Linked DNA regions of Homo sapiens: regions 2, 3, 4, 5, 6 and 7 are each linked to region 1. The links are contacts of gene promoters, found by promoter capture Hi-C in blood cells and fetal thymus (Javierre and others, 2016). All regions are on one chromosome and are shown on one strand. The core of a region is centred on a gene start or on the middle of the fragment in contact, and the rest is flanking DNA. Distances in the headings are between cores, read along the strand shown.

What was found. The method cuts DNA at HindIII sites, captures the fragments that hold promoters and counts their contacts. A CHiCAGO score of 5 or more calls a contact.
Region 2: a fragment that was not itself captured here is called in contact with the fragment with the promoter of HSD17B4 in region 1 in 1 of 17 cell types (activated CD4 T cells); the score reaches 5.6 in activated CD4 T cells.
Region 3: a contact is called between a fragment that was not itself captured here and the fragment with the promoter of HSD17B4 in region 1, in 7 of 17 cell types (non-activated CD4 T cells, total CD8 T cells, naive CD8 T cells and 4 more). The highest score is 12.8, in non-activated CD4 T cells.
Region 4: a fragment that was not itself captured here is called in contact with the fragment with the promoter of HSD17B4 in region 1 in 6 of 17 cell types (non-activated CD4 T cells, total CD8 T cells, activated CD4 T cells and 3 more); the score reaches 9.7 in non-activated CD4 T cells.
Region 5: a fragment that was not itself captured here is called in contact with the fragment with the promoter of HSD17B4 in region 1 in 5 of 17 cell types (total B cells, activated CD4 T cells, non-activated CD4 T cells and 2 more); the score reaches 8.3 in total B cells.
Region 6: a contact is called between a fragment that was not itself captured here and the fragment with the promoter of HSD17B4 in region 1, in 8 of 17 cell types (total B cells, activated CD4 T cells, total CD4 T cells and 5 more). The highest score is 9.0, in total B cells.
Region 7: a fragment that was not itself captured here is called in contact with the fragment with the promoter of HSD17B4 in region 1 in 5 of 17 cell types (non-activated CD4 T cells, activated CD4 T cells, naive CD8 T cells and 2 more); the score reaches 7.3 in non-activated CD4 T cells.

The regions. Positions count from the first base shown.
Region 1 is chr5:119,450,313-119,454,265 of GRCh38, reverse strand. It overlaps HSD17B4 (hydroxysteroid 17-beta dehydrogenase 4), which reads right to left and starts at 1,769. Exons shown (of 24, transcript NM_000414.4): 1 at 1,633-1,769. The coding sequence starts at 1,690. RefSeq lists an enhancer at 1,619-1,668. The HindIII fragment of the contact is 7,394 bases long and covers 1-3,953 here.
Region 2 is chr5:118,951,217-118,955,169 of GRCh38, reverse strand. All of the region lies in intron 1 of DTWD2 (DTW motif tRNA-uridine aminocarboxypropyltransferase 2), which reads left to right. Among named protein-coding and RNA genes, the nearest start is that of MIR1244-2, 21 kb to the left of the region's middle. RefSeq lists an enhancer at 3,575-3,953. The HindIII fragment of the contact is 1,017 bases long and covers 1,817-2,833 here.
Region 3 is chr5:118,968,438-118,972,390 of GRCh38, reverse strand. All of the region lies in intron 1 of DTWD2 (DTW motif tRNA-uridine aminocarboxypropyltransferase 2), which reads left to right. Among named protein-coding and RNA genes, the nearest start is that of MIR1244-2, 4.2 kb to the left of the region's middle. The HindIII fragment of the contact is 1,010 bases long and covers 1,505-2,514 here.
Region 4 is chr5:119,090,435-119,094,387 of GRCh38, reverse strand. All of the region lies in intron 1 of DMXL1 (Dmx like 1), which reads right to left. Among named protein-coding and RNA genes, the nearest start is that of DMXL1, 21 kb to the right of the region's middle. The HindIII fragment of the contact is 3,620 bases long and covers 333-3,952 here.
Region 5 is chr5:119,106,476-119,110,428 of GRCh38, reverse strand. It overlaps DMXL1 (Dmx like 1), which reads right to left. Exons shown (of 44, transcript NM_001290321.3): 5 at 146-278. Among named protein-coding and RNA genes, the nearest start is that of DMXL1, 37 kb to the right of the region's middle. The HindIII fragment of the contact is 2,787 bases long and covers 651-3,437 here.
Region 6 is chr5:119,167,665-119,171,617 of GRCh38, reverse strand. It overlaps DMXL1 (Dmx like 1), which reads right to left. Exons shown (of 44, transcript NM_001290321.3): 23 at 3,754-3,953; 24 at 338-1,428. Among named protein-coding and RNA genes, the nearest start is that of MIR5706, 15 kb to the right of the region's middle. The HindIII fragment of the contact is 3,622 bases long and covers 1-3,251 here.
Region 7 is chr5:119,184,479-119,188,431 of GRCh38, reverse strand. All of the region lies in intron 28 of DMXL1 (Dmx like 1), which reads right to left. Among named protein-coding and RNA genes, the nearest start is that of MIR5706, 32 kb to the right of the region's middle. The HindIII fragment of the contact is 709 bases long and covers 1,561-2,269 here.

The sequences.
Region 1 (3,953 bases), core at 520-3,019:
ATGAACAGCAGGTGCTAAGTTCATAACTGTCTAGTCACAACTCATTGTTTCACAAAATCAATTTTGTGGGTTACAATTACAATTTATAAATAAAACAGAATAGAAAATAAATTTCAGGATGCATTGCCTGTACTACACACTATATCATGAACTGGTTTTAAATACAGATGTATGTGCTTGTGTAAGTGTACTGAGTACTGGTGTAAAATGTACTGCATACCATGTGTAAGTATGCTAATGGTGTCAAAAGAAGCAGTCCCTATCCTTGAATGATTTTCAGATATAGCCCCTGAAAAGGAAAGTCTCCTTAGCGATGGCAAAAACGTCTTAGAATGTAATCCCTGGACCTCCTGCATGAAAATTATCCAAGAGCTGTCAAAAAAGATTTAAAACACCAAGCGTTGTAAAATACATTATTTACAATAAAAGCAAAGTGTAAACAAAATGTTTTCCTAAAAACATTTAGAAGGTATGACTACACCCAAATACATGCCCATGCAGAGATAACCAGACAGCTATGGGTATAAAATACTTGGCTATTCATCAACACTGAAAGCATTTTCTGAAAGGCAGCATAAGAAGCCACTTTATCAATACAGATATGAAAGTACATAGGAATTAATTGACAGAATTCCAGTTTGTAACGTTTAATATATAACTCAAATAATTCATGCATTAGGGCCTTTCCAGGTATAAGGTACTACCAGTGGAGAATCAAAGGTGCATAATGTCAAGATCCCTGCACTTGGAGGTTACAGAGGTCACCCACTGGTGAGAAACTAATGTAAAATCTCACTGCACAGCATCTATGTTGGTATGAATGGTTTGTTTTAATTTTTTGTACTTTAAAAAATGGGGCTATTTCACATAACAATTTTCCATTTTGCCGCTCCTGAAATACAGGCAACTTTCCCACTGGCCGGTCCACTTCGGAATTCTCTGCTCTCCAGTTCCTCAGATGTGCCCATCCTACTCCCATTTTCTTTCTCCATCATACGCCTGACCCCTGTGCGCATTTGAGCTTACAACCTCTGCCAAGACTCCAGTGGATTTCGAGAACAGATTGTGACTTGCTAAGCATACAAACTCCAACGGGGAAGGGCTCTTATCAGACGCCCTCTTTAAAGAAGGTCCTCTCACGAACTTAAAATCTTACGACAGAGGGAAACAAACACTGAACGACCGAATGACTTTTCAGGAGCTGACATCTCTGCGCTTCAGGGGGCGAATTCCAGCCCCCGCCCCTCGCGGCTTTTCAGTCCTTTAAAAGACTAGGCAAAGATCTAAGAGAGTTAATTGCAGGAAGAGTAACAATCGATGCCCACAGATAAGGGTCAGGGAGAACTTTCACCCAGTTTTGCAATCAGCAGCCCAGCCTGGCCTCTCCTCTCAGGCAGGACCTTGGGAAGCCCACACCGGGGTGCTGGGGAGAAGCGGGCTGTACCTGCTTGAGAGACCAGGTGTTTCCGGCTCTTTCCTCCTCAAGAGATGCGGTGCCTCAAGAATAACCATTCCCCTCCCCACCACCTCAGCGGGGTGACCTCAGCTGCGGCTGCGCGCGTATGCCGGCCCGAAAAGAGCAGCCAGCTGCGCCTCAGCAAGGGGCGCGGCCTCCAACCTTCGCATGCTCACCTGCCCCCGCGCCGGTGACCAGTACCACCCGCCCGTCGAACCTCAGCGGTGAGCCCATGAATAAGGCCTGCAACGACACACACACGAACAAGCAGAGCCGCTGGACGCCGACTGCGGGACAGGAGGAGGCGGGGAATGGCGGGGGCGGGACGAGGGTCAGTGACTTGCCGATTTCTGGTAGGAAGATGAGCGCAGAGCGCGCGGCTCCCTTGGAATCCTGGGAAATGTAGTTAAGAGTGACTCCACTCGCTGGAAGACTTGCCTTCCAGGGGCCATTTCTGCGGCTGGAAGCAATGGGAGCTGCTAGGACTTGTGTAGAAGAATAGTTAACTCGACACCTTGCGTTCATCTATTCACCTGTCGTTTCATCATTCACTCAATAAACGTTTTCTGGGTTTAGTTGCTGACCTAGAGAAACAGCATGCGGCCCCTATCCTTGAGGGGCTTCCAGAGATAGCCCCTGGGAAGGAAAGTCCCCCTTAGGGATGGTAAAGATTTGTCAGTGTAATAATCCCTGCACTTCTACATGCAAACATCAGGGGACTGTCAAAATGCAGAGTCCTGGACCCCCACTGCTTACCTCCCAAAATAGAATCTCAAGGGGCAAAAACATTTTGACAAGTGTTCCTAAATGATCTTGCGTTTGTATGTTGAGAACAGTCATAGTTCAATCAACATTTACTGAGCATCTCCTGAGTTTTGATAGGATCCTCAAGCTACTCAGAGTCAGATGGTAAACTTTCAATAACGGTGCAGCCTAGACTTGTGACCAATGTGTGTAAGTGAGCTAATGGTGTCAAAATAAACAGACCCTATCCCCGCTGGGGAGAAAGAGGAAAAACTTTCTGAAGGAGGACCAGGACCTAAAGTGGCGACCCCTGCAAAGAAAGAAGGGCATTACAGGCAGCACAAACACTAGCTAGGTTTGGGGAGAAAGAGGGTAAAGCCACAAAAGCAAAGCCAGCAAGATCATGTTTAGATGTTTGAATTTTGTGCTGAAAACGGTTTTAAGTAGGATTACTCCAGAGAGTGGTGGGAACACATTTACACTATGGAAAGATCACTTTGCCCATTATGGAGGATTGATTGGATGTTGCGGGAAGTCATGGACCCCAAACAGAGGGACCTGCTAGAGCCGCAGCAGAGGAACATAAATTGTGAAGATTTCACGGACATTTATCAGTTCCCAAATAATACTTTTATAATTTCTTATGCCTGTCTTTACTTTAATCTCTTAATCCTGTTATCTTCGTAAGCTGAAGGTGTACGTCACCTCAGGACCACTGTGATAATTGTGTTAACTGTACAAATTGATTGTAAAACATGTGTGTTTGAACAATATGAAATCAGTGCACCTTGAAAAAGAACAGAATAACAGCAATTTTTAGGGAACAAGGGAAGTCAACCATATGGGCTGACTGCCTGCGGGGTTGGGCAAAAACAGCCATATTTTTCTTCTTGCAGAGAGCCTATAAACGGACGTGCAAGTAGGGAAGATATCACTAAATTCTTTTCCTAGCAAGGAATATTAATATTAATACCCTGGTAAAGGAATGCATTCCTGGGGGGAGGTCTATAAACGGCTGCTCTGTCTTATGTGGTTGAGATAAGGACTGAGATATGCCCTGGTCTCCTGCAGTACCCTCAGGCTTACTACGGTGGGGAAAAACCCGGCCCTGGTAAATTTGTGGTCAGACCAGTTGTCTGCTCTCGAACCCTGTTTCTGTTGTTTAAGATGTTTATCAAGATAATACATGCACTGCTGAACATAGACCCTTATCAGTAGCTCTGCTTTTGCCCTTTGTCTTGTGATCTTTGTTGGACCCTTATTAGTAGTTCTGCTTTTGCCCTTTGTCCTGTTCCCTCAGAAGCATATGATCTTTGTTCTGCTTTTTGCCCTTTGAAGCATGTGATGTTTGTACCTACTCTCTGTTCTTACACCCCCTTCCCTTTTGCAACCCTTAATAAAAAACTTGCTGGTTTGAGGCTCAGGTGGGCATCACGGTCCTACTGATATGTGATGTCACCCCCGGCAGCCCAGCTGTAAAATTCCTCCCTTTGTACTCTTTCTCTATTTCTCAGCTGACTGACACTTATGGAAAATAGAAAGAACCTATGTTGAAATATTGGGGGCAGGTTCCCCCAATAATTAGAGGTGGGCAAGGAGAACATAGAAAAGATTTGGGGGAAATTATGGAAACCAGAAGTAAGGCAGAGGAAATGTTGAAGAAGAAATGTTGAGATAAACTGTATTTGCAAATGGAACTGACAGGGATAGAAGGCAGGGAAATTCTGGGCAGAAGAGGGCAGGTCCCCAGTGA
Region 2 (3,953 bases), core at 1,076-3,575, 500 kb after region 1:
GAGCATATAAAATCATGAGTTAAAGCAATTAGTTTTAGGTTAAATCACGCTTATAGTGTTTACACATAAATTGTTTAGCTATTTTTTTAGTAACTGTTTTCTTCAGTAAATATTTTTGTCTTTTATGTGCGATCACTTATCAAAATGATCACAAAATATAATAAAGGAAGACCTGACACTCTGAATTTCATTTGTAATACAAATGAATTACTTAAGTACCAGAGAGGGCATAAAGGAGAAATTAAACTTTGATATATAAAAAAAAATTAACGAATGGGATAGAAAATTGTATAGGAGGAGAAAAGCATTCAAAGGTTTAGAGAAGACGGAATGTAAAGATATTCCTTCAGGCTGGGCACGGTGGCTCACGCCTGTAACTTCAGCACTTTGGGAGGCCGAAGCAGGTGGATCACTTGAGGCCAGGAATTTGAGAAACTTCACCTCTACAAAAAAAAATCCAAAAATAACATTAATTATTCAAATACAAAAATTAGCCAGATGTGGTGGTGCACACCTGTAACCTCAGCTACTCACGAGGCTGAGGCATGAGAATTGCTTGAATTGGGAGGCGGAGGTTGCAGTGAACTGAGATCATGCCACTGCACTCCAGCCTGGGTGACAGAGTGACACCTGTCTCAAAAAAAGAAAAAAATCCTTTATGTATTCAGCAATATCTATTGAGCACCTACTATGCCAGGTGCTGGGGATATAGCAGTGAAAAAGGTAGGCTAAGTCCTTGCCTCCCTGTAGCTTACATTTTAGAGAAGGAAACCCACATTCAGCTAACATAATGTCAAATAGTAGTAAAATGCTGTGAAGAAAAATCAGTCAGAATAAGGGGATAGAGAGTGATAGTGAGAGAAAAGGTGGATGATTTGATTGATTGATTGATTCATTGCTAGGGTTTTTCTCTCTCTGTTGCCCAGGCTGGAGTACAGTGGTGTGATCATAGCTCACTGCATCCTCAAACACCTGGGTATGAGCAGTCTTCCTGTTTCAGCCTCCCAAGTAGCTGGGACTACAGCTGTGCACCACCGTGTCTGGCTAATTTTTAAATTTTTAGTAGAGATGAGGTCTTGCTATGTTTCCTAGGCTGATCTCGAATTCCTGTGCTCAAGTGATCCTTTCTCCTCAGCTTCCCAAAATTCTGAGATTACAGGCATGAGCCACCATGCCTTGCCTTGGATTATTTTAGAATGGGGCATTGGAGCAAAGACCTGGTCTAAGTGAATCTTTAAGCTCTGCAGATATCTGGGATAAGATACCAGGCAGAGCACCAGTTGCTAGACACTCAGGTGCATAAGACTACTTTAGGCCACACCTAATACCAGAAAGATATAGGCCAGGAGCCACAAATTTGCATTTGTGGCATTGTAGAGCAACCTTAGATGACCCTTTTCTGCTGGCATCCTTGTGGCAGTCTGGCATAGCAGTCCAGCTCAGGTGGAAGGTGATATGTTCCACACTAGGCAGATAAGGTAGCCTAATAACTTTATGCTCTCAGGAGCCAACATCTTTTGTAACAACTCTCTAGCAAGTTTCTAGGGTTCCAATTTAGGGAAGTCCAAAGTATGGTGTCCCCATAGGGTCTTTATAGGTCTCTAGTCCATATGCAATCTACCAGTCAGTTGTCATTTAAATCACATACAGTGTTGCTTAGCAATATAGTTATCATGTTGCCAGGGTAACAGAGCTCGTTAGTTAAGGGAAGGTCAAATTTTCATGCAGGGGGAAGGGTTTTGGGTAAGCCATTTTGTCCATAGCTTTGTTGTTTATTATTCTTTGATTACTACTTCTCACAAAAGTTCATCAAGCTTTGCCAACCTTCAGATGTAGACAGGAATGGGTAAGTGGGCAGGATGTAGATACGAATGAATTCAAGTCACTTGAAAAATAAAACCCACTGGTGTGGACACCTCTAGAGCCTTGCACATCAAACTGTGGTCTTTACATTCTTCACCCCCTCACTCCTTACTCACTAGCAGCATCATCACCACCTAGGAATTTGTTAGAAATGCACATTCTCAGGCTTACTGAATCAGAAGCTCTGAGGGCTGGGGCTCAGCTGTCTAGTTTAATGAGTCCTCTAGGTGATTCTGATAACAGCAAAAGTTTGGGAATCACTGTACTAGGGGATACAAAAATTAAATGAAAACTCTGCTCTTAGAGGGTTCATCATCTAGAAGTGAGAGGAAGATGTGAAAACAAAATTTTGTCATATGATGTGGTCAAGTGTTTAAATGGAAGTATTAATAGGAATCTAAAGGAAATACATACGACTAAAATAAAAGAAAGTGAATTCAGCCCTGGGAGTAACAGAGACGTGCAAACAAGATGAGAGGCGTTGTCTTGGAGCATAAGCAATGTGGTCCTGGTTGGATACTGTACTTAAAATAATATTGTAAATATTGCAGATTTATGGGTTAAAGACTGCTGTTGTGGGCTGAGAATCTAACCACTTCCAGACAACCAACTTTTAAATAGACTTTTGGAGTAGAGTTTCTAAATGTTCTTAAAGGTTCCTGTCAGGCCTTTGAGCCCAAGCCTGCATGTTTACATCCAGATGGCATGAAGCAAGTGAAGAATCACAAAAGAAGTGAAAATGGCCAATTCCTGCCCTAACTGATGACATTACCTTGTGAAATTCCTTCTCCCGGCTCAGACGCTCCCCCACTGAGCACCTCATGACCCCCGCCCCTGCTTGCCGGAGAACAACCCCTTTGACTGTAATTTTCCACTACCTACCCAACTCCTATAAAATGGCCCCACCCCTATGTCCCTTTGCTGACTCTTTTTGGACTCAGCCTGCCTGCACCCAGGTGATTAAAAAGCTTTATTGCTCACACAAAGCCTCTTTGGTGGTCTCTTCACACGGACGCGCGTGACATTTGGTGTCGAAACATTTGGTGCCGTGACTCGGATTGGGGGACCTCCCTTGGGAGATCAATCCCCTGTCCTCCTGCTCTTTGCTCCGTGAGAAAGATCCATCTACGACCTCTGGTCCTCAGACCAACCAGCCCAAGGAACATCTCACCAATTTTAAATTGGGTAAGCGGCGTCTTTTTACTGTCTTCTCTGTCCTCTCACTATCCCTCAACCCCTTTCTCCTTTCAATTTCTGCGCCACCTTTCAATCTCTCCCTTCCCTTAATTTCAGTTCCTTTCTTTTTCTGGTAGAGACAGAGGAGACGCGTTTTATCCGTGAACCTAAAACTCCGGTGCCAGTCACAGACTTGGGAAGACAGTCTTTCCTTTGTGTTTAATCACGCGGGGACACCTGCCTGATTATTCAGCCACATTTCAGAGGTGTCTGATCACCATGGGGACGCCTGCCTTGATCCTTCACCTTGGTGGCAAGCACTACCTCCCCGAGGCGGGGCAAGTACCCTCCCACCCCTTCTCTCCATGTCTCTACCCTCTCTTTTCTCTGGGCTTGCTTCCTTCACTATGGGCAACCTTCCACCCTCCATTCCTCCTTCTTCTCCCTTAGCCTGTGTTCTCAAAAACTTAAAACCTCTTCAACTCACACCTGACCTAAAACCTAAATGCCTTATTTTCTTCTGCAACACCGCTTGACCCCAATACAAACTTGACAGTGTTTCCAAATAGCCAGAAAATGTCACTTTTGATTTCTCCATCCTACAAGATCTAGATAATTCTTCTCGTAAAATGGGCAAATGGTCTGAGGTGCCTGACGTCTAGGCATTCTTTTTCACATCAGTCCCTTTCTAATCTCTGCTCCCAATGCAACTCGTCCCAAATCTTTCTTCTTTCTCTCCTGTCTGTTCCTTCAGTCTCCACCCCAAGCTCTGAGTCCTTTGAATCCTCCTTTTCTACAGACCTATATGACCTCTCTCTTCCTCCCCAGGCTGCCCCTTGCCAGGCCGAGCCAGGTCCCACTTCTTCCTCGGCTTCTGCTCCTCCACCCTATAATCCTTCTATCACCTCCTCTCC
Region 3 (3,953 bases), core at 760-3,259, 480 kb after region 1:
AGGAATTTATCCATTTCTCCTAGATTTTCTAGTTTATGTGCATAGAGGTGTTTATAGTATTCTCTGATGATTGTTTGTATTTCTGTGTGGTCAGTGGTGATATCCCCCTTATCATTTCTGATTGTGTCTATGTGATTCTTCCACCTTTTCTTCTTTATTAGTCTACCTAGCAGTCTATTTATTGTTATTTTTTCTCCAAAAACCCAGCTCCTGGATTTGTTGATTTTTTGAAGGGGTTGTCATATCTCTGTCTCCTTCAGTTATGCTCTGATCTTGGTTATTTCTTGTATTCTGCTAGCTTTGGAGTTTGTTTGGTCTTGTTTCTCTAGTTCTTTTAGTTGTGATGTTCGGTTGTTGATTTGAGATCTTACTAGCTTTTTGATGTGGGCATTTAGTGCTATGTATTTTCCTCTAAACACTGTTTTGCAGTGTTACAGAGATTCTGGTGCAGTGTCTCTTTGTTCTCATTAGTTTTAAAGAACTTCTTGATGTCTGCCTTAATTTCGTAATTTATCAAGGAGTCATTCAGGTTGTTCAATTTCCATGTAGTTGTGTAGTTTTGAGTGAGTTTCTTAACCTTCAGTTCTAATTTGATTGCACTGTGGTCTGAGAGACTATTTGTTATCATTTCAGTTCTTTTGCATTTGCTGAGGAGTGATTTCCAATTATGTGATCAATTTTTGAGTAAGTGCCATGTGTCTAGGAGAAAAATATATATTCTGTTATTTTTGGATGGAGAGTTCTGTAGATCTCTATCAGGTCTGCTTGATCCAGAGCTAAGTTCAGGTCCTGAATATCTTTGTTAATTTTCTGTCTTGATCATCTGTCTAATATTGTCAGTGGGGTGTTAAAGTCTCTCACTATTATTGTGTGGGAGTCAGTCTCTTTGTAGATCTCTAAGAACTTGCTTTATGAATCTGGGTGCTACTGTATTGGGTGCATATATATTTAGGATAGTTAGCTCTCCTTGTTGAACTGAACCCTTTACCATATATAACGCCCTTCTTTGTCTTTTTTGATCTTTGTTGGTTTAAAGTCTGTTTTGTCAGAAACTAGAATTGTGACCCCTGCATTTTTCTGTTTTCCATTTGCTTGGTAAATTTTCCTTTATCCCTTTATTTTGAGGTTATATGTGTCTTTGCATGTGAGATGGGTCTCTTGAAGATAGCATACAGATGGATCTTGACTCTATCCAGCTTGCCATTCTGTGTCTTTTAGTTAGGGCATTTAGGCCATTTACACTTAAGGTTAATATTGTTATGTGTGAGTTTGATCCTGTCATCATGAAGCTAGCTGGTTATTTTGCAGACTTGTTTATGTGGTTGCTTTGTAGTGTCACTGATTTGCGTACTTCAGTGGATTTATGTAGTGACTGGTAATGATTTTTCCTTTCCATATTTAGTGCTTCCTTCAGGAGCTCTTGAAAGGCAGGCCTGGTGGTGACGAAGTCCCTCAGCATTTGCTTGTCTGAAAAGGATCTTATTTCTCCCTTGCTTATTAAGCTTATTTTGGCCAGATATGAAATTCTGGGCTGGAAATTCTTTTAAGAATGTTGAATATTGGCCCCTAATCTCTGCTGGCTAATAGGGTTTCCACTGAGGGTTTTGCTTTTAGTCTGATGGACTTCTCTTTGTAGGTTACCTGGCGTTTCTCTCTGGCTGCCCTTAACATTTTTTCTTTCATTTTGACCTTGGAGAATCTGTTGATTACGTGTCTTGGGGTAGATCTTCTCGTGGAGTATCTTTCTGGGGTTCCCTGAATTTCCTGAATTTGAATGTTGGCTTGTCTTGCTAGGTTGGGGAAGTTCTCCTGGATGAGATCCTGAAGTATGTTTTCCCACTTGTTTCCAATTTTCCTGTCTCTTTCAGGTACCCCAGTCAGTTGTAGGTTCGGTCCTTTTCCGTAATACTGTATTTCTCAGAGTTTTTGTTCATCGTCTTTTCTTTTTTCCTTTTTTCTTTTTCTGAGACAGAGTCTCGCTTTATTAGCAGGCTGGAGTGCCGTGGTGCAATCTTGGTTCACTGCAATCTCCACCTCCCGGGTTCAAGTGATTCTTGTGCCTCAGCCTCCTGAGTAGCTGGAATTATAGGTGCACACCACCATGCTTGGCTAATTTTTGTGTTTTTAGTAGAGACAGGGTTTTGCCATGTTGGCCAGGCTGGTCTCGAACTCCTGACCTCAGGTGATCTGCCTGCCTCGGCCTCCCAAAGTGATGGGATTGCAGGCGTGAGCCACTGTGCTCAGTCTCATTCTTTTTTCTCTATTCTTGTCTTTCTGTCCTGTTTTAGAAAGATAGTCTTACAGCTCTGAGATTCTTTCCTCTGCTTGGTCTATTTTGCTGTTGATACTTGTGATTGCATTGTGAATTTCTTATATTGTGTTTTTCAGCTCCATCAGGTCATTTATGTTCCTCTCTAAACTGGCTGTTCTCATTATCAACTCCTGTATTGTTTTATCATGATTCTTAGCTTCTTTGCATTGGGTTAGAACATGCTCCTTTAGCTCAGTGAAGCTTTTTATTACCCATTTTCTGAAGCCTCCTTCTGTCATTTCAGTCATCTCAGCTTCAGCCTAGTTCTGTACCCATGCTGGAGAGGTGTTGCAGTCATCTGGAGTCACTCTGGATTTTTGAGTTTTCAGCGTTTTTGCATTGATTCTTCCTCATCTTTGTGGGCTTATCTACCTTCTATCTTTGAGGTTGCTGACCTTTGAATGGTGTTTTTGTGGGATCTTCTTTGTTGATGTTATTGTTGTTGTTATTGTTTTCCGTTCGTTTGTTTTTCTTTTAACAGGTCACTCTTCCATAGGGCTGCTGTGGTTGTTGGGGTTCCACTCCAGACCCTAATCTCCTTGGTCCTCCCACACCTGGAGATATTACCGGTGAAGGCTGCAAAACAGCAAAGGTGACAGCCTCCTCTTTCTTCTCGGAGCTTTGTCCCAGGGGCACACTGAACAGATGTTGGCCTGAATGCTCCTGTAGAAGGTGTCTGGAGCCCCTACTGGGAGTTCTCACCCAGTCAGGGGGAACAGGATCAGGGACCTGCTTAAAGAAGCAGTCTGGCTGCCCTTTGGCTGAGTGGGTGTGCTGAGCTGAGGGGAATCCTCCTTGTACAGACTGCCTGGACTCTCCAGAGCCAGCAGGCTGGAAAGGCTAAGTTGGCTGAACTGCAAATACAGTCACCGCTTCCCCCCCGCCCCTCCCCTCTTGGTGGCTCAGTCCCAGGGAGTGATCAGAGATCTGTTCATATAACTCAGGCTAGTGTAGCTGAAATTCCTGCAGGGAAGCCCCACCTAGTGAGGAGGGATGAAGCAGGGTCCCACTTAGAGGAGCAGTCTGACCACAGTCTGCTGTGTTGTGGAAAACTCTTCCCGTTCCAGACCTCCTGGACTCCCCAGAGGAGCCGGCAGGCTGGAACCACAGAGATGGCAGCTGCCCCCACTCCCAAGCCCCTCAGGAACTTGGTTCATTTCAGGCAGTCTCCAGCTTCCTGCCACTGGCCAGCTGGAATTCCAAGCCAGTGGGTGTTAACATGTGAGGTGCCATGGGAGTGGGGCCTGCAGAACGATGCTGCTTGGCCCCCTGGATTCAGCCCCCTTCCTAGGGGAAGGCATGGATGGATTTCCCGCCTTGCTGGAATTCCCAGGGCCAGAGTATGCAAAATTCCTGGGTCTCTGTGCATACCAGAGCCACTCTGTTGAGACTCCGCATAGCGCTATGCTTTGGACCCAAGGTCCTGGTGGTGTGGGCTCAGGGGGGGATCTCCTGATCTGCAGGTTGCAAAGATCTATGGGAAAAACGTGGTTTCCTGGGTGGGGTCGCACACTCACTGCCTCCCTTGGCTGGGGTAGGGCCTTCCCTGGCTTCAGAAGGGGCCGTCTCCCCACCCTGCTTTTCCTCACTCTCTGTGGGTTTAGCCATCCACCTAGTGAGTCCCAGTGTGAGAACCTGGATA
Region 4 (3,953 bases), core at 893-3,392, 360 kb after region 1:
ACATAGGTGCTGTCATCCGGGCTTTGTTGTTCCACTTGTAGAGCACAGGCAGACTAGGTTTAGCATAATTCTTAAAGACTCTAGGATTCTCGGCATGATAAATGGGCATGGGCTTCAACTTAAAGTTACCAACTGCATTAGCCCCTAACAAGAGTCAGCCTGTCCTTTGAAGCTTTGAAGCCAGGCATTGACCTCTCCTCTCTAGTTATGAAAGGCCTAGATGGCATCTTCTTCCAACAGAAGGCTGTTTCATCTGCTTTAAAATCTGTTCTTTCACATAGCCACCTTCATCAATTATCTCAGCTAGATCTTCTGGATAACATGCCGAAGCTTCTACATCACTCAGCGCTTGCTGCTTTACCTTGCACTTATAGGTTATAAAGATGACTTCTTTTCTTATACCTCATGAACCAACCTCTGCTGGCTTCAAACTTTAATTTTGCAGCTTCCTCACCTCTCCCAGCCTTCACGGAATTGAGAAGAGTTAGGGTCCTGCTCTGGATTAGGCTTTGGCTTAAAGGAATGTTGTGGCTGGTCTGATCTTCTAGCCAGACCACTCAAACCTTCTCCATATAAGCAATAAGGCTATTTTGCTTCCTTATCATTCATGTGTTCAATGGAGCAGAACTTTAATTAATAGTTTCCTTTGGAATTTTCCCTTTGCATTTACAACAGCTAACTAGCACAATAGGCCTAGGTTTTGGCCCATCTTGACACACCCTCCTCACTAAACTTAATCATTTCTAGCTTTTGATTTAAAGAAAGAGATGTGTAACTCTTCCTTTCTGAACACTTAAAAGACACTGTAGGGTTGTCACTATTCATAATTTCTATATCATTGTGTCTCAGTGAATAGGGAGGTCTGAGCGCAGTTCATTGGCATTCCACAACCATTACAATAGTAACAAAGATCACTGATCATCATAACAGATATAATAATAATTTTAAAAGGGGCCAGGCATGGTGGCTCACACCTGTAATCCCAGCACTTTGGGAGGCCAAGGCAGGCAGATCACTTGAGGTCAGGAGTTCAAGACCAGCCTGGCCAACATGGTGAAATCCAGTCTCTACTAAAAATATGAAAATTAGCCAGGCGTGCTCATTTGAACCCAGGAGGCAGAGGTTGCACTGAGCCAAGATCGTGTTGCTGCACTCCAGCCTGGGTGACAGAGCAAGACTCTGTTCAAAAATAATAATAAAAAAAGTTTGAAATATTTTGAGAATTACCAAAATGCGACACAGAGACACAAAGTGAGCGCATGCAACTGGAAAAATAGTGCTGACAGATTTGCTCAACAAAGGGTTGCCACAAAACTTCAATTTGTAAAAATCATAATACTTGAAGTGCAATAAGGGAAAGAGCAAGAAAACAAGATATGCCTGTATTCAAGAAAACTGAAAACATGTCCACACAAAAACCTGTACATCAATGTTCATACCAGCATTATTCATAATGGCCACAAAGGGAAACAACTCAAATGTCCATCAACTGTCAATGGCTAAACAAAATATAGTATATATCCATACAATGGAATATTATTAAGCCATAAAAAGTACTAGTAAATGCTAGAACATGGATGAACTTTACAAAAGACCACATATTTTATTATTTCACTTATATGAAATGTCCAGAATAGACAAATCCATAGAGTCAGTAAGGCAGTTGGTGCAAATAAGCAAACAAGCAATGTAAGTGGCTGTAAGATAGCAGCTGCCAGTGGCTAGGGGTAGTGGCAAATAGACAGTGATTGGTAATAGACACGGGATTTCTCTTGGGGGTGAGGAAAATGTTCTATAATCAGATTGTGGTAATACACATTGTTAATACACTAAAACCACTAAAATTTACACTTTAAAAGGGTGAACTTTATGGTATGTAAATTATATTTCAATAAAGCTGTTATTTAAAAAATAATAACTGTGGCTCCAAAAAGGTGGTGTTTCACTTGCCTCCAAAGAAAATGAAAAACAGATTCATACAACATTGCACCTGTAATCCCACCGAATCAGGAGGCTAAGGAGAAAAGATCGCTTGAGCCCAGGAGTTTGAGATCAGCCTGGGCAACACAGCAAGACCCTATGTGAAAAAAAAAGAAAAAGAATTTTTCTTAAATAAAAGAAAAAGAAAACCCAAAACAAATATACAGTGCTGAAAGTATCACCAGAAATAACCCAGAACTCACATATGAAGACAAGACAGTTCCTGGGGCCACAGGAATGAAAAAAGACAATTTTCAGAAATGAAAAAAGACAAAGAGACTTCCACATTCACAACACCCCTCCCCCAATTCTGCCCAGCACTTAGGGCACAGAAAATTTCCCCAAACATTGTTTCTACACTGGAAAAAGGGAGATTATGGTGAACAGCCAGCTTCCCCACCATATTGGGTTCTCTAGCAGAATATCTGTCCCAGCCCTAACCCATAAGAAGCATCACAAGTGCCTAAAGAAATATCTCTGAGGACAGGGAGAAACAAAGAGGGCAGGCAGTATTATTATCTGCATCCCTGAAAATAGTGCTCCATAACTCAGCCAAAGGAGATGCCACATGAGAGAGGCTGTTCAGTAGTAACACCACCCTGTAGGAGGTTTGTCCCACAGGTTTCCAGCACATGAACCCTTAGCCAGCATTCCCCCTCTGCTGAGATACCTCCTGTGGGATCTCCTCACTTTAGGAACGGCAGCCCTTTGATGGTTTACTAGAGCCAAGGTGAACCTGGACTTAAGGCAACACCTGGAGCCTAAAAAGGGGCAGTGGCTTAGCAGTGAAGAATCTCCAAGTAAAGATATCCAATATAAACCAAAACAAGCCAAAGACTAGAATAAATAACTAATCCATAAATGCAAAGACATAGGTGTGCATCCACAAGAAACAGCAGGCCAAGCACAGTGGATCACGCCTGTAATCCCAACACTGGGAGGCCAAAACAGGAGGATCCCTTGAGCCTAGGAGTTTGAAACCAGGCTGGGCAGCACAGCAAGACTTGCCTCTACAAAAAAACAAAAATAAAAACATTAGCTGGGTGTGGTGGCATGTGCCTGTAGTCCCAGCTACCAAGGAGGCTGAGATGGGAGGACAACTTGAGCTGGTAAATTAAGGCTGCAGTGAGCTGTGATCTCACCACTGCACTCCAGCCTGGGCAACAGAGCAAGACACTGTCAAATAAATAAATAAATAAATAAATGCAGCAAACAGGGAACCATGATCTCACCAAACAAAGCAAGGAACCTGACCCCAACCAGTAGGCGATATGTGAGCTCTCTGACCAAGAATTCAAAATAGTTTTAAGGAAACAACTATTCAGTCATCTCTAAGATAAGACAAAAAGCAATTCAGAAATTTATCAGAAAAAGTTAATAAACAGATTGAAATATTTTTAAAAAATCAAACAGAAATCTTGGAACTGAGAAATACATTTGCTGAACTGAAAAATTCATTAGAGGCTCTCCATAGAAGAATGGATCAAGCAGAAGAAAGAATCAGTGAGCTCAAAGACAGGCTATTTAAAAACACACAGAGGACTGCCAGGCACGGTGGCTCACGCCTGTAATCCCAGCACTTTGGGAGGCCAAGGCGGGCTGATCACAAGGTTGAGAGATCGAGACCACCCTGGCCAACATGGTGAAACCCCGTCTCTACTAAAAATACAAAAAAAAATTAGCCAGGCATGGTAGCAGGCGCCGGTAATCCCAGCTACTTGGGAGGCTGAGGCAGGAGAATCGCTTGAACACGGGAGGCAGAGGTTGCGGTGAGCCGAGATCGCGCCATTGCACCCCAGCCTGGGCAAAAAGAGTGAAACTCTGTCTCAAAGAAAAAAAAAAAAAAAACAGAGGAGAAAAAAACAAAAAAGAAAAGTAATGAAGTTGCCTACAAGATACAAAAAATTACCTCAAAAATGAAATCTAAGAATTGGCATTCAAGAGGGATTTGAACAAGAGAAAGTAGAAAGCTT
Region 5 (3,953 bases), core at 795-3,294, 340 kb after region 1:
TTATCTGTGTATAAGAAAAAGCATATCATAGACTAAAAATCAATACTTTTTATGTCAGTGTGGTTTTACACAACTAAAATACATTTATAATAAAACCACATAGAACAACAGGTTTATCAGTTTACTCCCCTGATTAATTGCTTACTTGCAATGCCAAATGCATTTCCAATCTCCAAAGTTAAGATCTGTTTTATTTAAATTTTCATCTTCAGTTGGCTTCTCCAAGTTAGTATTGGACCAGAGTTGCAAATAGCTGGAACCAGTTAAAAGACGACTGCCTAAAAAAAATATTATTCCTCATTTATTATTTAGGTATTTAATAGTGACTTAATTTACATGCTCAAGAATTTCATATAAAACAACTTCTAAAAAAAAGTCAAATATCAAAAAAAATTTTGAAGAACGGAGGAGAAGGCTGTATTTTAATTTCGTTAAAATAGCTTGAGATAGAAAGGAAGAAATCTTATAATCTCTCACTTAACAAGTATTTAATGAGCATCTTCTTTGTCCCGGGCACTGTGCTAGACATTGGAAATACAATGACAAACAAAACATTGTCGTTTTTCATGAGTTCATATTTCAGCAGAAAGACATGGAAATATGATACCATGTGGAAGTGTTACATACATGATAGAAATGCATGCAAAGCTTTATGGAAGCCCACAGGAAGGAGACATTAATGTGTACCTGTAGTAAAAGTGCCAGGAAAAGTGAGGAAATGAAACCTGGTCCTTAATGGATGAATAAGCAGAAGAGACAGGCATTTCAGAAAGGAAACCTAACATGAACAAAGGCATGAAGACATATAAATTTATGTATTTTCCCAAGAATGCCTCTTAATCTGGTATAGGTTAACGAATAACGTACACAGATAGGCTAGAAAAAAAATTACTACGGAAAAAATGCCAAGGTGAGACTGTGAAGAGTTTTTCAAGTTCACAGCGTTTGGACTTTGTTATAGGTAGTTGGGAGTAAAAGATTTTCAAGTGGCAGTGGGGGATTGTGGGGGAGTTGTTACAAAATTGGATCTGTATTTCAGAACAAGAGGGCTTAACTGGAAGAGGGGCAGTCAACAGATGGAGAGGCCTGTGAGTCTCCCTCTATTGAGATAACATACAAAAATCACACATACAATATGTGCATTTTTCCAGAAAGATAATATGTAACTTACATCGAAATTTCAAAGACTCTAGTATACAAAGAAGGTTAAAAATACTTTTTAGAAAACAACTCCAGAGACAGACAACATCAGGGAAACCATAAGTGTGTGGTTAACCAACTATTAAACTATTAAACCTGGTTAATTAACTATAGAAATTCAGATGGTAGGCCAGGCACGGTGGCTCACACCTGCAATCCCAGCACTTTGGGAGGCCAAGGCGGGTGGATCACCTGAGGTCGGGAGTCCAAGATTAACCTGACCAACATGGAGAAACCCCATCTCTACTAAAAATACAAAATTAGCCGGGCATGGTGGAGCATGCCTGTAAACCCAGCTACTCAGGAGGCTGAGGCAGGAGAATCACTTGAACCCGGGAGGCAGAGGTTGCAGTGAGTTGAGATCACACCATTGCACTCCAGCCTGAGCAACAAGAGCGAAACACCACCTCAAAAAAAAAGGAAAAAAAATTCAGATGGTAAATAATGAGGATCTCAACCAAATATTTAAAAAGCAAGCATTTGAAAGCCATTTCAAAAAGTATTGTCAAGGCTGGGTGCAGTGGCTCACACCTGTAATCCCACCACTTTGGGAGGCCAAGGTGGGAGGACTGCTTGAGCCCAGGAGTTCAAGACCTGTCTGGGCAACATAGTGAAACCCTGCCTCTACAGAAAAAAATTACAAAAATTAGTTAGACACGCACTTGTAGTACCAGACACTAGGGAGGCTGAGGTGAAAGGATCACTCAAGCCTGGGGAGTCAAGGCTGCAGTGAGCTATGATTGTGCTACTGCAGTCTAGCCTGGGCAACAGAGCAAGACCCTGTCTCAAGAAAAAATGAAAAAAAGAATTGTCAAGATTTGACACCAAATAAATACAGAGAAAAAACAAGAGGGTTAAAGGACAGATTCCAACTCTATGACTTGGGAATTAAGTAGAAGGCCGTGCTATCATCCATACAAAAGACAAGCAATTTTGGCAAAAAAGCTGACAATAAAGATGGCATTCACCTTGGCAATTTAAGACTATAGATTTGTGTATTTCTAGAACAATCACTTTTTTAAATTTTTTGAAGAGACAGGGTCTTGCTATGTTGCCCAGGCTGGTCTCAAACTCCTGGGCTCAAGCGATCCTCCCAACTCAGCCTCCCAAACTGCTGGGATTACAGGTATGGGCCAGCATGCTTCGCCCTCGTTTTCTTGTTTCAAAAGGAAAGTGGATCTCTGGCATAGACTTTAGATCAGAAATCCCTGTGTCTAAATCCCAAGTAAGATGCTTAATTAGCCATGTGAATTTGATCTAGTTGGGTAATTTCTGAACTTCAATTTTCTCATCTATAAAATTTGAGGTTTAAATACAGTTGTTGTAAGGATTAGCTATATAATATGCACAAAGTCTCTAGCACAGGCCAGGCACTAAGCAGAAGCTCAATAAATAGTAGAGCAACTAGACAGAAGGTTTCATAGACAGGGGCCAAAAAAAAGCACAAGAAGTAATGAAACATTCCATTTAAATATGTTGATTATTCCACTTTTGAACTTACCAACAGATACAACTTTTCTTTTGCTTAATATAAACTGAAGATAACATTAAGATATCCCATAAAAGATTAAGAATTTAATACAGAATATAAACTTAATCCCAGGTATGGAATGGAACAAAAGTAGGTAAGATATAATATGGTATACTGATTTCAAACTCTAAGAATTAGATATTACAGATATTAAATTACAGATATTAAAGCAGGATATTATGGATAGTAAAGCAGGAAAAAAGCATAAAAAGTCTAAAACAGAAAATCTTATGAATTAGGCAACATAAAATATTAAATTTGGACACAAAAGAAAGGCATTAATCAGTTTACCAATAGTTTTATATCTCTCTCTGATGACTTCTATGTCTCAAAGATAACTTTTCTTTTTTTTTTTCTGAGACAAGTTCTTGCTCTGTCACCCAGGCTAGAAAGCAGTAGCACAATCATGGCTCACTGCAGCCTCAACCTCCTGGGCTCAAACAAGCCTCCCACCTCAGCCTCCTGAATAGCTGAGACCTCAGGTGCCAGCCACCAAGCCTGACTAACTTTTCAAAAATTTTTTTGTAGAGATGGAGTCTCCCTATGTTGCCCAGGCTGGTCTCAAACTCCTGGGCTCAAGCAATTCTCCCCACTCAGCCTCCTAAAGTGCTGATATTACAGGTTTGAACCACCGTGCCCAGCCCCAAAGATAACTTTTTATGTTCTAGATTCAAATGTCTATATATTGCTTTATGATATACAAGCTTCTCAAGGTCCACATATCCAATTAATACCTTATGTTCCACTACCTCTAACTCCTACATATTACTCTTTGTGTGGTCATAGATACTCTCAAAGTAATTTCAAATCCAGTTGTTAAGTAATGTCAATTCTACTGCCTAAACACATTTCATATCCATGTATACCTTTCACTATTCATTAATTCATTTAATATTAATTGAACACCTACTATGGAAAAGGCATTGAAATAAGTTCTTATTTCTCATCCAGACTAATGAGAATACAACCTCTCCAAAGGTCACTCCTTCTCCTGTTCCATTTGCCACTGACCCTTCTAACTCACTGCTAGCAGACAAATCTCGCAAAACCATAAATCTTGTATGACTAGCCTCTTTTGAAAACCTATAGTTTTTAGACAACCATAAAGAATTAAATTCAAATTTTTAGCATGACTTTAAAGGTCTCCTATAACATGGTAAGGTCTTATCTCCTTACCACCACTGAGACTCAGCCCAGTGAAATACTAATCCTTATTATAATG
Region 6 (3,953 bases), core at 191-2,690, 280 kb after region 1:
TAATCATATTTAAAAATAAGACATTTAGGGGCACAGAGAGGGAAAAAAAAAATAAGACAATATCCTCTTGCAATAAGAAGTCTGTCACCCTACAAAGGCATTCAGACAACACTTTGGAGTGTGAATTAAGCAGGTCATAAGGCCTGATACTGAATCGTCTGTAACTACTATAAATACACAACTCTATAATTCATAATATGAAGGACCACACAAAAGGGAGCTTTCCCTAAAGCAACCGTAATAAAGAAAATCAAGTCTTAGTATTCAAAACCAAAAAAGAAACACCAAAAACAGTTTTAGACATGTACCATTTTTGACTATCAAGTAAATTACATACCTGCTGAGATTCTTGCAAAAGCAAAATCAATTCCATTCTTACAGATGCAAGACCCCCACCATGGGATCCATGAAGTATGCAGTAACTAAGAAACATTCTCAAAAGTGACTGATACTTCAAGAGCCACTGTCTTTTTTCCTGAAAATTTTCTCTCAGTTGTTTCACTTTTGTTTGGTGAGGCAAATCTTCAGCATCCTCATTTAATCCAAATTCATCTTCATTTCTGCCAAATGCAGACTGTAGTTCTTCAGCATCTGAGCAAAAGTCACAAGTCCTCTGAAGAGCTATCACCTCTTTTTCAAGCCAGTGGTATAGTTGGTAACGCAATTTTCCACCATCTATTTCATAGCCAGTAGATAAAGTACGAAGTTCTACTGTGAGAATCTTTAAACATGCTCTAAATTTTAACTGAACTGCAATTATATCTTCTGATGGATTTAAAAGGTCATTTTCATCTAGTGTGCTGAAAGATTCTGTGTAGTTAGAACTTATGTCATCCAACTTTTTATCTGTTTTTCTCTGTAAAGGTTTTAGTTCTTTCATTGAAATAGGGACATCCTCATTTTCTTCATCATTATCACTGTCCCATTTTAACTCTAAAGAGTCATCCTGAAACACAACACTTGGTTGGCTCCAGTCAAAAGAAAGAGTGGAGTTTGATTGCTTCTCTGAGGAACCCTCTGAAGAAGATCCAAAACCATTTATCAGTGACTGTGACCAATCAACAGCAGAAGACTTATCTTCCCTTGCATCCAACTTTAATGGAGAAGAAGGAGAACAGTCTTTACTAGTATCCAGAAAACTAGAAGCCCTATAAAAAGGTCTTGTTTTCTTGATGACTTTAGGCATCTTTGATAATACTTCCAAAGCCAACATTGGGCAGCCAGCTTTTAAATGAGCACTGGCAGTGGTAAAAAATAAACGTCTTTCACTTAAATTAATTGTTCCTGCCAGTCCACTTTTTCCTGTTAGGCTCATATGTGTGGAAAATGTATCAGATGATCCAAAATGACGTCTCAGCAAAAGAGGATGTGTTCTTAGATAATTGTAGAAATTAAAAACTGTAGGATTACTGGCTGATAAAACTTGATCTGAAAGTAAATTCATTTTATGAGCCAAGAAAAGTTATGAACTGTGTGTTTCTATTGTAGTGTCTTTTCTCTATCTACTATGACACCTTTATCTAAAGAGTCTTTTGACAAAATTTTACTAATAGGCCACAATGATCCATGGCACTGAAGAGACAACAACACATTTATAATGAACATGTTCTAACAAAGTAGGAAAACAAAGATTATGATGCTTTCCCATTGAAACAAGTCTCTTCAGGTAATATTCTAGGATAATTTAAAACGTCCAGTTATAGACTCTTAGTTCTTTTTCTCCTACTTCCCTGAACACTTCTCCTCAGTCTGCTTTGCTAGTCCTCCTCATCTTCTCTACCTTTGAACACTGAGAGTCTCCTAGGGTTCAACTGCTGACTTATTTTCTATCTATATTCCCTGAGTTGAATTCATATAGTCCCCATGACTTTCAATAACATCTACACACTGATAACTTGGACATCATCTCTATCTCCAGTCCCAACTTCACACTGAAAACCTAAACTCCTATATCCAAAGGCCTACATTTCATTTTTACTTATGTGTATAAACTCTTGCTTTGGGGCCTTTTTATTTAGTGTGCCCTTGACCCAAACCACTCTTTACCTATATCTATACTGATTAACTCACTCATTTCAACCAGTTCTCTGATCAAAGTTCACCTTATCAGAGAAAGCTCCATGATCTAAAACAATTCTTCCCCATATCATCTACCTATTGTTCAATCTAAAAAGCCAGGAGTTACCTTTGACTCCTAATTCCTTTACACTCCTTATCAAATCCAGTCCTATGTAATCAATCTTAAAATCATATCCCAAATCCAACCACATCTCTCTGCCTCCATTCCAATCATTCTGGTCCAAGCCGCTATTATTTTTTGCAATTTTCTTCTAGAAGAATACAAGTTTAATTCATAATAAAAGTATGTAAAAATGTACTAGTCCCAAATCAAAATACAATTTTTACATGAATATGTGTTAAGTATAAGAAAGTGGGCCAGGGCCAGGTGTGGTGGCTCATGCCTGTAATCCCAGCACTTTGAGCTCAGGAGTTCAAGACCACCCTGGGCAACATGGTGAAACCCCATCTCCAGCAAAAATACAAAAAAATTAGCTAGGCATGGTGGCACACACCTGTGGTCCCCGCTACTCAGGACGCTGGGGTGGGAAGATTGCTTGAGCTTGGGAGGTGGAAGCTGCAGTGAGCTGAGATAGCCCCACTGCACTCCAGCCTGGGTGAGAGTGAGACTCCACCTCAAGAAAGAAGAAAAAGAAAGAAAAGAGAAAAGACAAGACAAAAGGAAAGAGGAAGGGAAAGGGAAAGGGGGCCAGGCACAGTAGCTCATGCCTGTAATTCCAGACTTTGGGAGGCTGAGGTGGGAGGACAGCTAGATGCCAGGTGTTTGAGATGAGCCAGGGCAACAAAGCAAGATACTGTGTCTAATTTTTTTTTTTTTAAATAAAAACACTAAAAAAAGAAAGTGGCTGGAAAAGGCATTTACATTTTCCCTTCATTACATAGAGGCTAGTTTGAAAATCTTTAGCTTAAATGGCTAGGAGACTTAAACAAATGAGTCACACAGCTTTCTCAAAGGTTTAGGAAGTAAGGCGAAGGCCACTTCCTGATTAAATGATAGCACATAAAAATCTATGAACTAGACCCTTTTCCAATTAGTATTCCAAATAATATAATACCTATTTTATCAGCTACCAAACACAATTCAATCTATGAAAACATATCTGAAAAGTAAATCTCATTTTTATATGCATCTATATAAAAAATTCCATTTTATACTGGCCTCTAAGAAAGCTTTAGCAAAGAGGATTTCTAAAAGAAAAGGTACTAGCAGACTCAAAAGAGTACATAAGCTCTACCAGTTCATAACAAGACAGTCAAAAGTTCATCTAGCTAAAGATTTTCTTATCACATCACTTAAGTCAACTTGTTTTTACACTGAACACATTTTTCACTGTAAGAATTCTAAAACTGATTGACAAACACACTAAATTCAACCTAAGATTTAAAAACTGGCTTTATAACAGTATTTCTTCAAAATGTTTATATTCAAGTGTTGACAATATTTATGTTCAATATTTATGTAAATCTATTTTGTAAAAACAGAAAATCCAACGTTCTTTGTTTTCAAAGGATTTATCTTTCTGGAGAAAAAAACCAAACAACCAACCAAAAACTGTTATAAAGACCATGAATTCAATTTGTTTGTATTACCCTTACCACCTAATAGAGTGATCTGCACATGTAGCAATTACCAATAATATTCTTAATCATTAACATCTTAGAAGTGCAGCTTACCATCATTCTCTCTGATAGGTTGCTTTATTAATGTTTCCAGAGCACCACTATAATCTTCCAAAATCCAATATGCCATGCTCCGAAGAAAAGGATCATGATGCATATTTATGTTCAATGAACACAGTTCACTGACAGGAGAATCGATTCCCAAAACTTTTTTACGTAAAATAGATTTATATGCTGCAGATGTATCAAATTCA
Region 7 (3,953 bases), core at 666-3,165, 270 kb after region 1:
CTTTAACATTACTGTTTTGTCTTTTTTAAGAGATGGAGGTCTCCTTATGTTGCCTAGGCTGGATTTAATCCCTTGACTCAAGGGATATCCACACCTCAGACGCCTGAGTAGCTGGGACTACAGGCTTGTGCCACTGCACCTGGCTGTTTTTGTTTTTATGTTATTAAAAAGCATGTGAACCAAGAAGTATAGACAATCTCTGAAAAAAAAACACGTACAATGTTAAATTAATAGATTTTTGCCAAGATTAGTATGTCATAAAAATAGTTTTCTTTTTTTCTTTTACTGACCCACTGGTAGATAAAAATAGTTTTAAAAGTAAAATATAAGAGAGTTTTTAAAGACAGAAACATTTGAAACTACAAGCTGTGAATCCAGTCACGTGACATGAAAATATTAACCACACTGGGAGGAAATGTTTAAAATTTACAGACTCAACACCAGGAAGTATAAAACCACTTATTAAAACACTTTTTGGCTGGGTGCGGTGGCTTACGCCTATAATCCCAGCACTTTGGGAGGCAGAGGTGGGCAGATCACCTGAGGTCAGGATCCAGCCTGGCCAACATGGTGAAACCCTGCCTTTACTAAAAATACAAAAATTAGCCAGGCATGGTGGCACGTGCCTGTAATCCCAGCTACTCGGGAGGCTGAGACAGGAGAATTGCTTGAACCTGGGAGGGGGAGGTTGCAGTGAGCCAAGATCGCACCACTGCACTCCAGCCTGGGCAACAGAGCAAGACTTCATCTCAAAAACAACAACAACAAAAACAACACTTTTAATGAAGCAGGACCAAAGGAAAAAAAATCGGCAGTTTCACAGTAATGAATGTGTATTACTTTAGATGCTTTAACTAAAAAGACCTTAGCGATGCCACCCAGTAAACAAGAAATGACCTGTGACTTGTCAATAGGGTAGTTACTCCCTCTTCTTTGTCCTCCAATTGTAGGAAGACTTAAGGCAATTTTATGCTTGAATCCTGCTGGGTCAGATTGGTCGTGAAGCTTAGGGGCACCGATAAAAACTATAGCTGCTGGGTGTTCAACTGGTTGTTTTTGAAAATGCTAATAATCAAATATCAAGAACGTTTGCCATTCCTTGGGTGCAAACTAACCCTATGGTTCTACTATTATGGGAAAACCGCTACTTTATTAGTAACAGAAGAAAGAAAATAGTATTAGGGAGAAATTAAGAGCAACTTGAATATAGAATTTATGAATTTTAAGAGGTATAGGGAGGCTACAAAGTGGCTGAAGAAAAACTAAGGCATTCACAGGAAAAACAGAATAATGTCCTGACATAAATTTTAAAAATAAGTTTCAGTTGCTTTCCCAGGAAGCACTTTTTTTTTTTTAAATTATACTTTAAGTTCTATCGTACATGTGCACAACGTGCAGGTTTGTTACATAAGTATACATGTGCCATGTTGGTGTGCTGCACCCATTAACTCGTCATTTACATTAGATATATCTCCTAATGCTATCCCTCCCCCATCCCCCCACCCCACGACAGGCCCCAGTGTGTGATGTTCCCCTTCCCGTACTTTTTAAAACAAAGCTTCCATGTCAAGATAGTAGACTGTACAGACAAATACACCTTCCTTCCCTTAACAATCCTTTCCTCACCCTCAGAATATCTGCACTGTGGTTTTCTAAGAATTATAAAAGTAACTCCCCAAAGAACCCAAAACAGAAATGGAGAAATGGCTAACAGGCTACACATAGGGAAGGGGAGGAGCAGAGGAATAAGACAACATTCCTTCCTATAAATTCTTCTGTACTGCTAGACTTGTTACCACACACATATATTGCTGTGATTAAAACTAAAATATAAGGGGAAGGTTATTAAGTTAATATTTACTTTTCAGTTTATCATTTAAAATCAGCACAATGAAATTAATATTCTGAATGTAGATTTAAATGTCATTTCTTTAAAAACTGAACTTAGAGTTCAAGACCAGCCTGGGCAACATGGTGAAACCCAGTCTCTACAAAAAAATAGAAAAATTAGCTGGGCATGGTGGCACATGCCTGTAGTCCCAGCCACTTGGGAGGATCACTTGAGCCCAGGAGGTGGAGGTTGCAGTGAGCTGAGATCACACCATTGCACTCCAGCCTGGGCAACAGAACAAGAACCTGTCTCAACAACAAAACAAACAACAAAATAACTGAACTTAAAGTAACCAGCAGGTCTCACTCTCTATTTCTCAATCTAAGGCACCCATATCCACAGAGCTATTCATGAGTGTGCCAGAGTATACACGAAGCTTCAGGAGGCACATTAGTCTGGACCTTCTAACTGAGCCCCCCAAATATGGAAAAGATAAAAGTCATGCAAGTTTAAGACAAACAGATTTCAAATTTATTTCTTGCTTTCAGCAAGCCAATTCAGTCTAAGTCCTCAGTCTCCTAAGAGGTATATGTTAACCTTTATCTTCAGGTAAAAAGTTTGAGAACTACAAATGTACGTGAACACTAAGTATAAAACAAATCCTCAAAATTAAATGTAAAACATGATTTTCCAAGTAAACTTCAAATATTCCAAAAATAAAAGGATTAAAGAAGCAATTAATTGAAGGTACTTCTTAATCATCAAAGAATAAGATTAGTGATTAAAAAAAAAAAGTCTGGCCAGGCACAGTGGATCATGCCTGTAATCCCAGCACTTTGGGAGGCTGAGACAGGCAGACCACGTGAGACCAGGAGTTTGAGACCAGCCAGGCCAAAATGGCAAAACCTCATCTCTACTAAAAATACAAAAATTAGCCAAGTGTCGTGGTGTGCACCTGTAGTCCCAGCTGCTTGGGAAGCTGAGGTACAAGAATCACCTGAACCTGGGAGGCAGAGGTTGCAGTGAGCCAGGATCATGCCAGTGCACTCCAGCCTGGGTGACAAAGTGAGACTCTGTCTCAAAAAAACAAACAAACAAACAAAAAAAGTCTGGAAGATGATACTATCCAGCTTTTAGAAAGACTGACCCTCAAAGTCTTCCTAGGATCATTACCATACACCGTATCTTGAACATGGCTCCATAAATATCTATAAAAATGAAATAATAAATATCTTAATAGAAAGTGGTGATTTGTCTCCAAACCACAGAGCAAGGGAGTCTCCACGGTAGTTGTACAAAATGATTCACCAGAATATGGAAGGAAAATACTACAACTTCTACTTAGATTTATTTTTTGATAAATAGGGGGAAAGGGCAGAAGGAGAAGGGAAGGAGGTAGAGGAGCAGAAAGTGACAGGGGAAGAAGTAGAGGGAAAGGAGAAGGGACAAGAAGAAAGGAGAGATGGGGGCAGGTGGAGGTGAAAGCAGAGGAAAGAAGGGGAAGAAGGAAAGTAAGGAGAAGAAACTAAATTTTGTCAATGTTTAACATCTGGATCGATAGTAGTAGACATCAATATACATATATTGAGAATTTGGTCAAGCATGTTTTATGGATAAGGTAATGTCTTCAAAAGCCTGAAGTCACTGCCCTAGAGTAGTACTTACTTTTCAATCACCCTGAATGCCACAACACGGTTCTGTATATAAGATTTCAACCCAAACTCAACAAACTTATTGAAAATGTGAATGGAGTATACACACACAACGGAACATTCAGCATTAAAAAGGAAGGAAATTCTGTCGCAAGCTACAACATGGAAGAACATTACACTAGGTGAAATAAGCCAGTCACAAAAAGACAAAACACTATATAATTCCACTTATATGAGGTATATAAAGTAATCAAATCCCTGGAAACAGAGTAGAATAGTGATTACCAGGGATTGTATGAAGTGGGGGAATTGTTTAATGGGTATAGTTTCAGATTTGCAAGATGAAAAAGTTACAGAGATTTGTTTCACCACATGATAGACTTACTACTAAACTATATACTTAAAAATGGTTCACTTGCTAAATTTTATATCATGTGTTTTTAGTCATAATAAAAAAACTATAATGGAAA